2 separate regions of the Homo sapiens genome follow, and region 2 is linked to region 1. The links are contacts of gene promoters, found by promoter capture Hi-C in blood cells and fetal thymus (Javierre and others, 2016). All regions are on one chromosome and are shown on one strand. The core of a region is centred on a gene start or on the middle of the fragment in contact, and the rest is flanking DNA. Distances in the headings are between cores, read along the strand shown.

Evidence for each region. The method cuts DNA at HindIII sites, captures the fragments that hold promoters and counts their contacts. A CHiCAGO score of 5 or more calls a contact.
Region 2: the fragment with the promoter of CHLSN here is called in contact with the fragment with the promoter of EIF3B in region 1 in 1 of 17 cell types (neutrophils); the score reaches 5.3 in neutrophils.

What each region holds. Positions count from the first base shown.
Region 1 is chr7:2,349,395-2,356,433 of GRCh38, forward strand. EIF3B (eukaryotic translation initiation factor 3 subunit B) reads left to right here and starts at 5,433. Exons shown (of 19, transcript NM_001037283.2): 1 at 5,433-6,026. The coding sequence starts at 5,528. It also overlaps a transcript of SNX8 not described here. RefSeq lists enhancers at 4,224-4,779, 4,450-4,519 and silencers at 5,320-5,459, 5,640-5,729, 5,780-5,889. The HindIII fragment of the contact is 9,918 bases long and covers 1,116-7,039 here.
Region 2 is chr7:1,133,221-1,139,848 of GRCh38, forward strand. It overlaps CHLSN (cholesin), which reads right to left and starts at 5,027. Exons shown (of 5, transcript NM_001318252.2): 1 at 4,095-5,027. RefSeq lists silencers at 4,587-4,636, 4,647-5,096, 5,297-5,436 and an enhancer at 5,157-5,256. The HindIII fragment of the contact is 2,681 bases long and covers 3,620-6,300 here.

The sequences.
Region 1 (7,039 bases), core at 4,183-6,682:
TTATATTTTTAGTTTATTTTTTTCACCCTACCCCCTATATTTTTAATTTAACTTTTTTTTTTTTGAGACAGTTTATCACTCTGTCACTCAGGCTAGAGTGCAGTGGTGTGATCTCGGCTCACTGCAATCTCTACCCCCACCCCATGTTCAAGCGATTCTCCTGCCTCAGCCTCCCAAGAAGCTGGGACTACAGGAGCACGCCCCCACACACAACTAATTTTTTGTAAAGATGAGATTTCACCATGTTGTCTAGGCTGATGTTGAACTCCTGCCTTCAAGAGATCTGCCCACCTCAGCTCCCAAAGTGTTGGGATTACAGGCGTGAGCCACCGCGCCTGGCCAATTTAGCTTTTCTTAAGACAAGGTCTCACTCTGTTGCCCAGGCTGGAGTGCAGTGGCTCGATCCTGGCTCACTGCAGCCTCAACCTTCCAGGCTCAAGCTATCCTCCTGCCTCAGCCTCCTGTGACAGGTCCTGAATGTCCACAAACCCACCCAGGCTGGCCCATGGTGGACAGGTGGTGAGGTCAGAGTCTCAGTCCTCTCCAGCCCAGCATGAGGCTCCCAGGCTACACCCGGAGCCACCCCACTAGAGATCTCACCTGCCTGGGCCCTGGAAGGGTCACCCTGGATCTCTACCACCCGGTTCATGGCTCCCAGGCTCAGGGACTGGACACTTCCCGGCTCTGAACCTCTTCCTCAAAGACATGAAATCCCCACGCTCAGAACCTGGTTGGCCTACTTGGAAATACTTCTCATTCTGTTAAGATAAACCCACAGGAAAATAAAGGCACAGCTTTCCTACATTATCTCATCCAAACTCCCCCAAGCCTGCGAGGTAAGAAAACTGAGGCCTAGAGACGTTGAGGCTCTCTTGATAGCAAGGGAGGGGTTAGTCTCGGCCCAGTCTCCGGGCTCAGGCAGCCTCTCTCCCCAGCCAGGTCAGGCTTCCCCAAGGGGCCGTGTGGCGGAACATTTTTCATTTTCATAGTTATGAACCAATGTTAATATCAATAGAAATGCAACAAACCCATAAAACTTATAATTTCACGGAAACTATAAATTTGGCCTTAAAATGAAGTCACGTTTCTTTAGAAAGAGTTTTGAGGGAAATTAAAGCTTACCCCTGGGCCGAGCGCGGTGGCTCATGCCTATAATCCCAGCACTTTGGGAGGCCAACGCAGAAGGTTTGCTCTAAGCCAGGAGTTCAAGACCAGCTTGGGCTAACAGTGAGACACTCTCCCCCATCTCTAAAAACAATTTTTTTTTTTTGACACAGAGTCTCACTCTGTCATTTAGGTTGGAGTGCAGTGGCACAACCTCGGCTCACTGCAGCCTCTGCCTCCTGGGCTCAAGTGATCCTCCTGCCTCAGCCTCCTGAGTAGCTGGGATTACAGGCGCCTGCGGCCACACCCGGCTAAATTTTGTATTTTTAGTAGAGATAGGGTTTCACCATGTTGGCCAGGCTAGTCTTGAACTCCTGACCTCAAGTGATCCTCCTGCCTCACTCTCCCAAAGTGCTGGGATTACCGGTGGGAGCCACTGTGCCTCGCTCTCTAAATAAACAATTTAAAAAATTAGCCGGGCACAGTGGTGCACGCCTATAGTCTCAACTACTCAGGAGGAGGCGGCGGGAGGATCACGAGCCTGGGAGTTTGAGGCTGCAGTGAGCCATGATTGCGCCACTGTGCTCCCGGCCTGGGTGACAGAGTGAGACCTTGTCTCAAAAACAAAAAGAAAAAAATCTACCCCTGGAAGCACAACACAGGCCACGCTGCAGGTCAGCCTGGGAGCCTCATCCGGCCATCTCTGCTGCCAGGGTTGGTGCGGTGCCTCAGGTTTCCCACTCCTTCACCTCAGAGGCTCAGAAATAGACCAGCGGAGGCCAGGCCTGCTGGCTCATGCCTGTAGCACTTTGGGAGGCAGAGTTGGGAGAACTGCTTGAGCCCAGGAGTTGAAGACCAGACTGAGCAACATAGTGAGACCCCATCTCTACAGAAAAACAAAAAGGTAGCCCGATGTGGTGGTGTGGATCTGTACTACCAGATACTCAGGAAGCTAAGGTGAGCCTGTGAGACTGAAGCTACAGTGAGGTGCGACGGCACCACTGTACTCCAGCCTGGGTGACAGAGTGAGACCCTGTTAAAAAATAATAATAGGCCAGGCGCAGTGGCTCACGCCTGTAATCCCAGCACTTCGGGAGGCCAAGGCGGGCGGATCACGAGGTCAGGAGAGTGAGACCATCCTGACTAACAGGATGAAACCCGTCTCTACTAAAAATACAAAAAATTAGCCGGGTGTGGTGGCAGGCGCCTGTAGTCCCAGCTACTCGGGAGGCTGAGGCAGGAGAATTGCTTGAACCCGGGAGGTGGAGCTTGCAGTGATCCGAGATAGCACCACTGCACTCCAGCCTGGGCGACAGAGTGAGACTCCATCTCAAAAAATAAATAAATAAATAAATAAAGATAATAATAAAAACAAAAAATCGAGTAAGTTTTTGTTGTTGTTGTTGGTTTTTTTTTTTTTTTTTTTTTGAGATGGATTTTTGCTCGTTGCCCAGGCTGGAGTGAAATGGTGCAATCTCCGCTCACTACGCCCTCTGCCTCCAGGGTACAAGTGATTCTCCCGCCTCAGCCTCCTGAGTAGCTGAGATTACAGGCATGTGCCACCATGCCTGGCTAATTTTTGTATTTTTAGTAGAGATGGGGTTTCACCATGTTGTTCAGGCTGGTCTCGAACTCCTGACCTCATGTAATGCATCCGCCCACCTTGGCCTCCCAAAGTGCTGGGATTACAGGTGTGAGCCACCATGCCCGGCCATAATTTCCTTCTTCTAATAAGGACATCAATCACTGATTTAGGGTCCACTCTCGTCCACTTTGACTTCATCTTGATTACATCTGGGAAGACTGCTTCCAAACACAGTAGCCCCCCCGACCCCCAGTTTCACATTGCACTGTTTCAGTTACTTATGGTCAATTAGGTTGGAAAATATTACATAATGAAGAAAATTTGACAGAGAGAGACACAGACACACCACCAGACACCACATCCACATAACTTTTATGACAATATATTGTTATAATTGTTCTATTAGTTATTGCTGTTAATCTCTTACTGTGCCCTATTGTAAGCATGCATATGTAGAAAAAACATACTCCCAGGCGTATTGGCTCACACCTGTAATCCCAGCACTTTGGGAGGCCGAGGCAGGCGGATCACAAGGTCAGGAGATCGAGACCATCCTGGCTAATACGGTGAAACCTCGTCTCTACTAAAAAAATACAAAAAAAATCAGCCAGGCGTGGTGGCGGGCACCTGTATTCCCAGCTACTTGGGAGGCTGAGGCAAGAGAATGGCGTGAACCCGGGAGGTGGAGCTTGCAGTGAGCCGAGATCGTGCCACTGCACTCCAGCCTAGGCGACAGAGCAACACTCCGTCTAAATAAAAAAAAAAAAAATTGTCATCCCTTATTGTACAGATGCGGAAACTGAGGTGGAGGCATTAAGTGACCTGCCCAAAGATACACCACTGACAGCATGATGAGGAGTAGTCAAACCTGGTACTAGGCATGGGAAGACTCTGCTTCTTTTTCGCTCTTTTAAACACCGTTAGGATGGGATGGGTGTGGTGGCTCATGCCTATAGTCCCGGCACTTTGGGAAGCTGAGGGAGGAAGACTGCTTGAGGCCAGGAGTTTGAGACCAGCCTGGGCAACACAGTGAGATGCTATCTACAAATAAAGAAATTAGCTGGGCACGGTGGCACATACCTTCAGTCCCAAGTACTTGGCAATGTACTTAATGTCACTGAACTGTACACTAAATTGCATATTAAAATGGCTAGGCCCTGCGCGGTGGTTCACGCTTGTAATCCTGGCACTTTGGGAGGCTGAGGTGGGAGGATTCTCTTGAGGCTGGAAGGTCCCGATTGCAGCGGCGCTGTGATTATGCCACCGCACTCTAGCCTGGGCAACAGAGCGAGACCCTATCTCTGAAAACAAACAAAACAAAAAAACTATAGGATGAAATATACATAAAATTTACCTTTTTGGCATTTTATTTTATTTTTTCGAAGACAGGGTCTCGCTATGTTGCCCTGACTGGTCTTGAACTCTTGGGCTCAAGTGATCCTCCTGTCTTGGCCTCCCAAAGTACTGGGAAGAGAGGTGTGAGCCACCGCGCAGGGCCTAGCCATTTTAATATGAAGTTTAGTATACAGTTCAGTGGCATCAAGTACATTCACCATGTTGTACCATCACCACCGTCATCTCCAAAACGTTCTCATCCTCCCAAATTGAAGGTCCGTCCCCGATAAACACTCCCCACTCTCCACCCCAGCCTCTGGGTACCACCTGTTTTATTTATTTATTTAATTTTCGTAGAGATGAGGGCTGGCGTGCGGGGGGTGGTGGTGCTATGTTGGCAAGGCTGGTCTCCAACTCCTAAGCTCAAGCGATCTTCCCACCTCAGCCTCCCAAAGTGCTGGGATAACAGGCGTGATCCACTGGGTTGTTTTCTAGGATGATTAAGACATCCCCCAACCAGTGGTTGTCCTCCACTCCGGCAAAAAACAAGATAGAAGCCACATGCACCCAATGCCCGTCCCGTGAGCACCCGCGCAGAGCGAACCGCTCCGGTCCCTCCGGAGTCAGCCTCGAGCTCCACGCGGCGAGGACCCGCCCCCGCCCCCACGTGACCCGCGCTGTCCCGCGCTGAAGGCGGCGGCCTCGGATGGACTGAACCACTGTGAAAGCCCGAATGGGGGGAAACAGGCAGTGACGGCCGCTAGGGAAGGACTGGGGGTAAGCGATTAAAGAAACTTCCATACATTTTTGTATCGCGCCAGGCAGTCGTCCTTCTAGTCGTGTGGGCCCTCTCTGGCTCGCCCCGAATTCCTTTTCTATTTTGAAGTAGTCTGTCCTTTTGCTCAGTCAGTAGGCGAGTCCAAGTGACAGACACGGACAGGGGGGACTTTAGTAACGTAAACTAAACGGTTTCCCTAGCGAAAGGCTCAGACGCCCTGAGCAATCGCCTGTTGAGTCTCCACTCTTCCAGGGTATTAACTGTTGAGTTAGAGGACATTTTCCTAGCATTCCGGGTACTAAAATCATTTCTTGTCCCCGCCTTCAGCTCCACAAATAGTTCAGTCCCGCCCCGCAGCGTCCGACGGGAAAGGAAAGGGGGAGGACGCCATGTTGGACGGAACCATCTGCTGCCACACATGGGGTGGTCAATGCTCCCATGAGTTTACTGATGCACAGAAACAACCTTGCTGAATGGAATTAAGCACTTTCTTGTCACAAATATATCAGTTTGATGATTTTCGGGCGCGGTCTTGTGGATGCGAGTCCTCTCAGGGTCGTTCGTGAGGCCCCAGGGCGTGGGTGCGCCCCCCGCCCCGCGGCCTTGGTGCGGCCTCCCCGTCGCACGCACATGGCTGGGCTGTAGCCGTCGCGGCGCGCGGTGCGGCCTGGGAGAGTCGGAAGCGCGGCGGCCGCGGAGCCCTGCGAGTAGGCAGCGTTGGGCCCATGCAGGACGCGGAGAACGTGGCGGTGCCCGAGGCGGCCGAGGAGCGCGCCGAGCCCGGCCAGCAGCAGCCGGCCGCCGAGCCGCCGCCAGCCGAGGGGCTGCTGCGGCCCGCGGGGCCCGGCGCTCCGGAGGCCGCGGGGACCGAGGCCTCCAGTGAGGAGGTGGGGATCGCGGAGGCCGGGCCGGAGTCCGAGGTGAGGACCGAGCCGGCGGCCGAGGCAGAGGCGGCCTCCGGCCCGTCCGAGTCGCCCTCGCCGCCGGCCGCCGAGGAGCTGCCCGGGTCGCATGCTGAGCCCCCTGTCCCGGCACAGGGCGAGGCCCCAGGAGAGCAGGCTCGGGACGAGCGCTCCGACAGCCGGGCCCAGGCGGTGTCCGAGGACGCGGGAGGAAACGAGGGCAGAGCGGCCGAGGCCGAACCCCGGGCGCTGGAGAACGGCGACGCGGACGAGCCCTCCTTCAGCGACCCCGAGGACTTCGTGGACGACGTGAGCGAGGAAGGTGAGGGCGCCCGGGGCGGGGCTGGCGAGCGGCGCGGGAGCGTGGCTGGGGTTCCCGAGGTGGGAGATATCGTCGGGCTGTGCCACCGGTTCGTGCAGAAGTTCCAGCGAGGGTGTCCGTGTGTTCCTGAGAAGCCACCGAGGGAGGGGTTCCCGAGTGCCCTGGAAGTGTTCTGAGAGCCCAGCGCCTCCCCTTTTCTTTCCTGAAAAAGGGGACAGGGTGGAGCTCACTTCGGGAGCCAGGCATTTGCATGACAACCAGAAATCTGAGAGGGTGGGAGAGGGCACATGGGGTACTCCGTTATGGCTGGGTGTGCTGTGAGTGTAGCAGCTGGGGGTACGGCAAAAACCGAAGACCCGGTGGCAGGTTTGCGGGTCTACGTGTCCCCAGAGCTGACCAGTCAGACCTCCCAAGGTCTGGATCGGAGGAACAGCTTGTGGCAGAGCCGGTGATTTTGTCCTCCTGCCCCTCAGAATTGTCCATCTCCAGAGACTTCCTTAGTGGGACAGGCACCCTGTGAAATTCCAGTTTGATTTTTCTTTATCTCTTGCGCTAAATCTATAAAGAGAGTTATTTTTCCAGGTTTTAATATTGCCGATAACAGCCAGCTTTGCCTTCATCTCAACCTTGATTGGATTTACAGGCATATTTTTGCTTCCTGTCTCAGAGATTTTTTCCTGAAGCTACTTCTGATGAGAGCTGGTCTCATTTGTTTTTCTTTTGTTTTTTAGCTCTCTTAAGCCTTTAAGTTGGGAACACATCAGCCTCTGCAGATTGGCTAAGTTGATACTAGAGTGAGAAAAATAAAAATACCCTTGCTGATGTAGCCAGCGATACACCAGGACAATTTCGGGAATAACATGGAGTTGCCAATTTATGATTTAAACGTATTTTTAAAAGGCTATCAGAGGGCCGGGCTGGGTGGCTCACGCCTGTAATCCCAGCACTTTGGGAGGCCGAGACGGGTGGATCACGAGGTCACCATCCTGGCTAACACGGTGAAACCCCGTCTC
Region 2 (6,628 bases), core at 3,777-6,276, 1.2 Mb before region 1:
GCTCAGGATACGCAAATTATACTGACAGAAAGGAGATGAGAGATTATTTAGGGATAGGGCAAGTGGAGGGAAGAGTGGGTGACCACTAAGGGGCACAGGGTTTCTTGTGGCAGAAGGAAAAAGTCTTAAAATTAGATTGTGGTGATGGTTTCACAATCCCTCGATATACTGCAAAAAAAAAAAAAAAAAAAAACTATAATCCCTCTCAAATTATTTACCATAAATTTAAAAATGTAACACCCAAGTGCGGCCAGGCACGGTGGCTCACGCCTGTAATCCCAGCACTTTGGGAGGCTGAGGCAGATGGATCACGAGGTCAGGAGATCAAGACCACCCTGGCTAACACAGTGAAACCCTGTCTCTACTAAAAATACAAAAAAAAAATTAGCCGGGCGTGGTGGCAGGCGCCTGTAGTCCCAACTACTCGGGAGGCTGAGGCAGGAGAATGGCGCGAACACGGGAGGCGGAGATTGCAGTGAGCCGAGATCAAGCCACTGCACTCCAGCCTGGGCGAGAATGAGACTCCATCTCAAAAAAAAAAAAAAACACCCAGGTGCTACTTTACGATAAATAAATAAATAAATGGGAGAAAGATCATTTGCTATAATGTTTGTTGTGAGACAAAATTTAGGCTGGAACACAGTGGCATAATCACAGCTCACTGCAGCCTCGACCACCCAGGCTCAAGCAATCCTCCCAACTCAGCCTCCGGAGTAGCTGGCACTACAGGTGTACACCACCACGTAGCTAACTCTTGTATTTTTTGTGGGAATGGGGTTTCGCCATGTTTCCCAGACTGGTCTCAAACTCCTGAGCTCAAGTGATCCTCCCACCTTGGACTGCTGGGATTGCAGGCGTGAGCCACCACACCTGGCCCCAAAATATATATATATATTTTTTTAATTCGCTGGGCATGGTGGTGCGTGCCTGTAGTCCCAGCTACTTGGGAGGTTGAGGCAGGAGAATCACTTGAGCCTAGGAGTTCAAGGGTGCAGTGAATCACGATCACGCCATGATACTCCAGCCTCGGCGACAGAGTGAGAGACTGTCTCTTAAAAGGGTGGGGGGCAAGGCTGAGCGCAGTGGCTCACACCTGTAATACCAGCACTTTGGGAGGCCGAGGTGGGCAGATCACCTGAAGTCAGGAGTTCGAGACTAGGCTGGCCAATATGGTGAAACCCCATCTCTACTAAAAATACAAAAATTAGCCAGGTGTGGTGGCGTGTGCCTGTAGTCCCAGCTACTCGGGAGGCTGAGGCAGGAGAATCACTTGAAACTATGGAGATTACAGTGAGCCGAGATCGCGCCACTGCACTCCAGCATGGGTAACAGAGTGACACTGTGTCTCTAAATAAATAAATAAATAGGCCGGGTGCGGTGGCTCACGCCTATAATCCCAGCACTTTGGGAGGCCGAGACAGGCAGATCACAAGGTCAGGAGATCGAGACCATCCTGGCTAACATGGTGAAACCCCGTCTCTACTAAAAAATACAAAAAATTAGCTGGGCATAGTGGCGGGTGCCTGTAGTCCCAGCTACTCAGCTACTCGGGAGGCTGAGGCAGGAGAATGATGTGAACCTGGGAGGCGGAGCTTGCAGTGAGCCGAGATCGCACCACTGCACTCCAGCCTGGGCTACAGAGTGAGACTCCTTCTCAAAAATAAATAAATAAATAAATACATAAAGAGTCATCTACCTGCCCTGTCTCTGACTCCTTTCCTTCCCCCATCCCATCAGGCTTTTGCCCCAAACACCCTACCACAATGACACCCACGTGGCTAAATCCCATTGCCAACTCTCAGTATGCAACTTATTTGACCTAACAGCGTTGGACTGTTGATCCTTCCTTCTCTCTTGACAGGCATTTTTCACTTGGCATCCAGCACAGACAGCAGAACTTCTGCTTTTGCTCCCACCTCTTAATCGCCGTGTCCTTGAACACTGAAGGACCCAGGCTTAGTGCTCAGCCTCCTCACTCCCTCGTGATCCCATTCAGTCATGTGGCTTCAAATACCAACTAGACGCTGATGACTTTGTTTCCTCTCTTTACAGTCTCTTATTAACCCTCTCCTTCAACTACACGCCAACTCAACTGTGTATATATATAGCTATAGTTGTATGTATATACATATAGTTATATATATATACATGGTCATATATGTGTACCTAGACATATATACACATATATATACTTGAACTCCTGACCTCTGTTTACACTGTTTATACACATATATCTACATGTGTGTATATATATGTATGTGTATGGCCGGGCACGGTGGCTCACGCCTGTAATCCCAGCACTTTGGGAGGCCGAGGCGGGGAGATCACTTGAGGTCAGGAGTTTGAGACCAGCCTGGCTAACATGGTGAAACCCCATCTTTACTGAAAACACAAAAATTAGCTGGGTGTGCTGGCACCTGCCTGTAAACCCAGCTACTCGGGAGGCTGAGGCAGGAGAATCGTTTGAATACGAGGTGGAGGTTGCAGTGAGCCGAGATCGCGCCACTGCACTCCAGCCTGGACAACAGAGTGAGACTCCACCTCAAAAAGAAATATATATATATATATATATACACAATTTATTTATTTATTTATATAAAATAAATATATAAATATATTTACATAAATATGTATTTATATAAATATATAAAAATATATATGAATATATAAATATATAAGTATATATAAAAATATATATAAGTATATATAAATATATAAGTATATATAAATATATATAAATATATATAAGTATATATAAATATATAAGCATATATAAATATATATATAAAATATATATGTATATATAAATATATGTATAAATATATAAGTATATATAAATATATATAAATATAAGTATATATAAATTTATATAAATGTGTATATAAATATATATACATAAATATATATAAATATATACATAAATATATAAATATATATACATAAATATGTATAAATATACATAATTATAAATATATACACAAATATATAAATATATATAAACATATATAAATATATAAAATATATATAAATATATATAAACATATATAAATATATAAAATATATATAAATATATATAAACATATATAAATATATATAAACATAAATATATAAATATATAAACATATAAATATATATAAACATATATATAAATATATATAAATATATAAACATATATATAAATATATATAAACATATATATAAATATATATAAACATATATATAAATATATATAAACATATATAAACATATATAAATATATAAACATATATAAACATATAAATATATATAAACATATATAAATATATATAAACATATATATGAACATATATAAACATATATAAACATATAAACATAAACATATATAAACATATATAAACATATATAAATATATATAAATATATAAAAATAAATATATATATGCGGATGTGTGTATAAACTGTGTATATATATAACTATATATATAACCATATATATGTACTTATATATATCATCTACACATATATCATCTCAAGCTTAAGAATTCGTAATCAATACCCCTGATCACCCTCCACAAACCTGAGCTTCCTAGTGTTCATCCTCTCCATAAACATCCATCTGATGAGGTTCACATAGTAGCTCAAGCTTAAAACCTTGGTCCATCCATAAATCCTCTCTTTCTCACATACTCGTCCAACCCACCACAAACTCCTGTTGGTTTACCACTGAAATACACCCAGAATGTGACTCCCTTAAGATCCCATAGGTACCCAGTCCAAGCCACCACCTCTCACGATGGCTTTTAAACTCCTAAATCAGATGGTGTGTCACCTCCACTCAAAAAACTTCCCAAGCTGTCCCCTTCCACTTGGAGGGAAAGTCAAGGTCCTTGCCACTTGGTAAGGTCCACACGACTGCCCTGGCCCCTCCTCGCATCTCTGGGAACTCACCTCCTCTTTCTCTCTCTGTTCCCAAATTGGCTGCAGCCACACTGGGCTCCCTGCTGTTTCCCCTGCACCTGCTGTTTCCTCGACCTGGAATGTTCTGGTGCCTCACTCCTCCTCCTGCTTCCTTTCCATTCTCAAAACCCCTGTTCTCATCTTCTCCATGGCACTTACCATCACCTGCTCTGTGCACCTTGTTCATCTGTCTCTCCCCTCCAGAATGGAAGTTCACTAGATCACAGACTTGTCTCCACTTGTTGACAGCTGTAGCCCAATGCCCCGAACAGTGCAGGAGGAACCCAATGAACGTTTTTTAAAAATGAATGAATGAATGACGGAAGGAAGGAAACGGAAAGCATGCTTATGATGGAAAGTGAGGCCAAGCGCGTTGGCTCACTCCTGTAATCCCAGCACTTTGGGAGGCCGAGGCAGGAGGATCCATCGCTTGAGCCCAAGAATTCGAGACCAGCCTGGGTAACATGGTGAGACCCCATTTCTACAAAAAACATTTTTAAAAATTATCCGGGTGTGGTGGCGCGCGCATGTGGTCCCAGCTACTTGGGAGGATGAGGCGGGAGGACGGCTTGAGCCCAGGAGGTGGAGGCTGCAGTGAGCTATGATCACGCCATTGCACTCCAGCCTGGGTGGCACAGCGAGACACTGCCTCAAAAATTGAAAAAGAGAAAGTGGGAGCTGAAAGCCTCGGAGGGCAATCAGGGCGTCTTCAGAGAAAGACAATGAAACCAGAGCCACTGCAAGCCCTGACGGCCTGAAACCTAGGAGCCAGCTGAGTCCCTTCCACTCGCCCGCGCTGAGTTAACCCAGAGGCGGGTGCGGGTGTCGGAGCCCGCGCCGGGACGCACCGGCCGCACCGGCCGCACCAGCCTCCCCAGCACCGCGGACCCCAGGGCCGCCGCCCGGTCGCGCCGCGCCGGGCCTCCGCGCACCCACGTGGAGGGGGCGGAGCCCCGCGGGAGCCCGCCCCGGGGCTCTGGGTCTCCTGGCGCCCTGACCCGCCGGCCACCCCGCCGCCGCCCCACGCGCCTACCTGCGCCCACCTGCGCCCACGTCGCCCACCTAAGCGTGAACAGCTGCGTCGCGGACGCCGCCTTCCGGCAGGGACCCGCGCCCCAGGTAAGCGTTAGTCCCGCCTTCAGGAGTGCGGAGCCTCCCATTGGACGAGGTCTGCGTCCGTCTCTCCGCCGGCTAATGGCAAGCGGCGGCAGCACGGGGGGCGGTTCCAGGACCGGGCGCGGGCTACTGACGCCATCTCTAGAGGCCTAGAGTTGCTTGGAGAGGAGCTGGTTGCCAAGGCAACCCGCCCTGCCCAGAACAAGTGCAGATGACTAGGTTTGGGCCCCGCAGGGCTTGGGGGTCTGGGGTGCAAGCTGCCCCGGCCGGGCTGGCGTCCCGGGGTGGGGCCTCCGCCGAGGGTCCAGGGTATGGAGCTCGGCTCGGAGTCGAAATGGATGAGCTACGGCTATTGGGATCAACAGGGCTAGGACTTAAACTTCGTGCTGAATTTAAAAAATCAGGATAGGTGCTAAAAAATACACAGGGTGGGTAGTGTTATAATAATGCTTGTGTCCGGGAGCGGTGACTCACGCCTGTGATCCCAGCATTTTGGGAGGCCCAGGCGGGCGGATCGCTTGAGCTCAGGAGTTCGAGACCCGCCTGGCCAACATGACGAAACCCCGTAACCCCGTCTCTGCTAAAAATACAAAAATTAGCCAGGCGTGGTGGCAGGTGCCTGTAATCCCAGCTACTCGGGAGGCTGAGGCAGGAAAATCGTTTAAGCCCGGGAGGTGGAGGTTGCAGTGAGCCGAGATCGTGCCACTGCACTCCAGCCTGGGCGACAGAATGAGACTCTGTTTTAAAAAATAAAAAATAAATTAAAAAAATAAAAATTAGCCGGGTATGGTGGCACGTGCCTGTAGTTCCTGATACTCTGGACGCTGAGGTGGGAGGATCGCTGGAGCCTGGGAGATGGAGGCTGCAGTGAGCTATGATCAAGGCACTGCACTCCAGCCTGGGCAACAGAGCCAGACCCCGTCTAAAAAAAAAAAAGAAAAAAAAGCATGCTTTCAAGTCACCCAGTAAGTTAAGTGCTTGGCAGCCGTATCAAGTATGATGTACGTTGCCTCAGGAATCCAAAGGTGACAAGCAAAGAAGGTGCACTCTTCCTTACTGGTAGAAGATTGTATTTGGTTCCTTTTTCTGCATAACAAATTAACCCAACATTTAGCAGCCTAAAAGAACATTTATTTTTTCATGGTATCCGCGGTCAGGAAAGTGGGCGTGGCTAAGCTCTGTGCCTTTGCCTCAAGGGTTCACCAAGTTGTGGTCAAGGTGTCCCCCCAGGGTTGTGGTTTCATCGGAAAGCTTATCTGGAATGATCCACTCCCAAGCTCACACACACGGATATTGTAAGGACTCAGTCCTCCAAGGTCATTAGAGAAGGGCCTCAGCCTTGCTGGCTGCTGCCCAAAGGCCACCCTCAGTTCCTTGGTACATGGGCCTTACCACAAGGAAGCTCACAACACTGCAGCTGGCTTGCCTTAGACGGTGCAAGCACACACAAGAGGAGGCACACACAAGACGCACATCACAGTCTCCTTGCACCCTAATCTCAGAAGTGACTTCCCTAGGCTTTTGCCATATTCTGTTCATTAGAAGTCGGCCGGGTGCGGTGGCTCACACCTGTAATC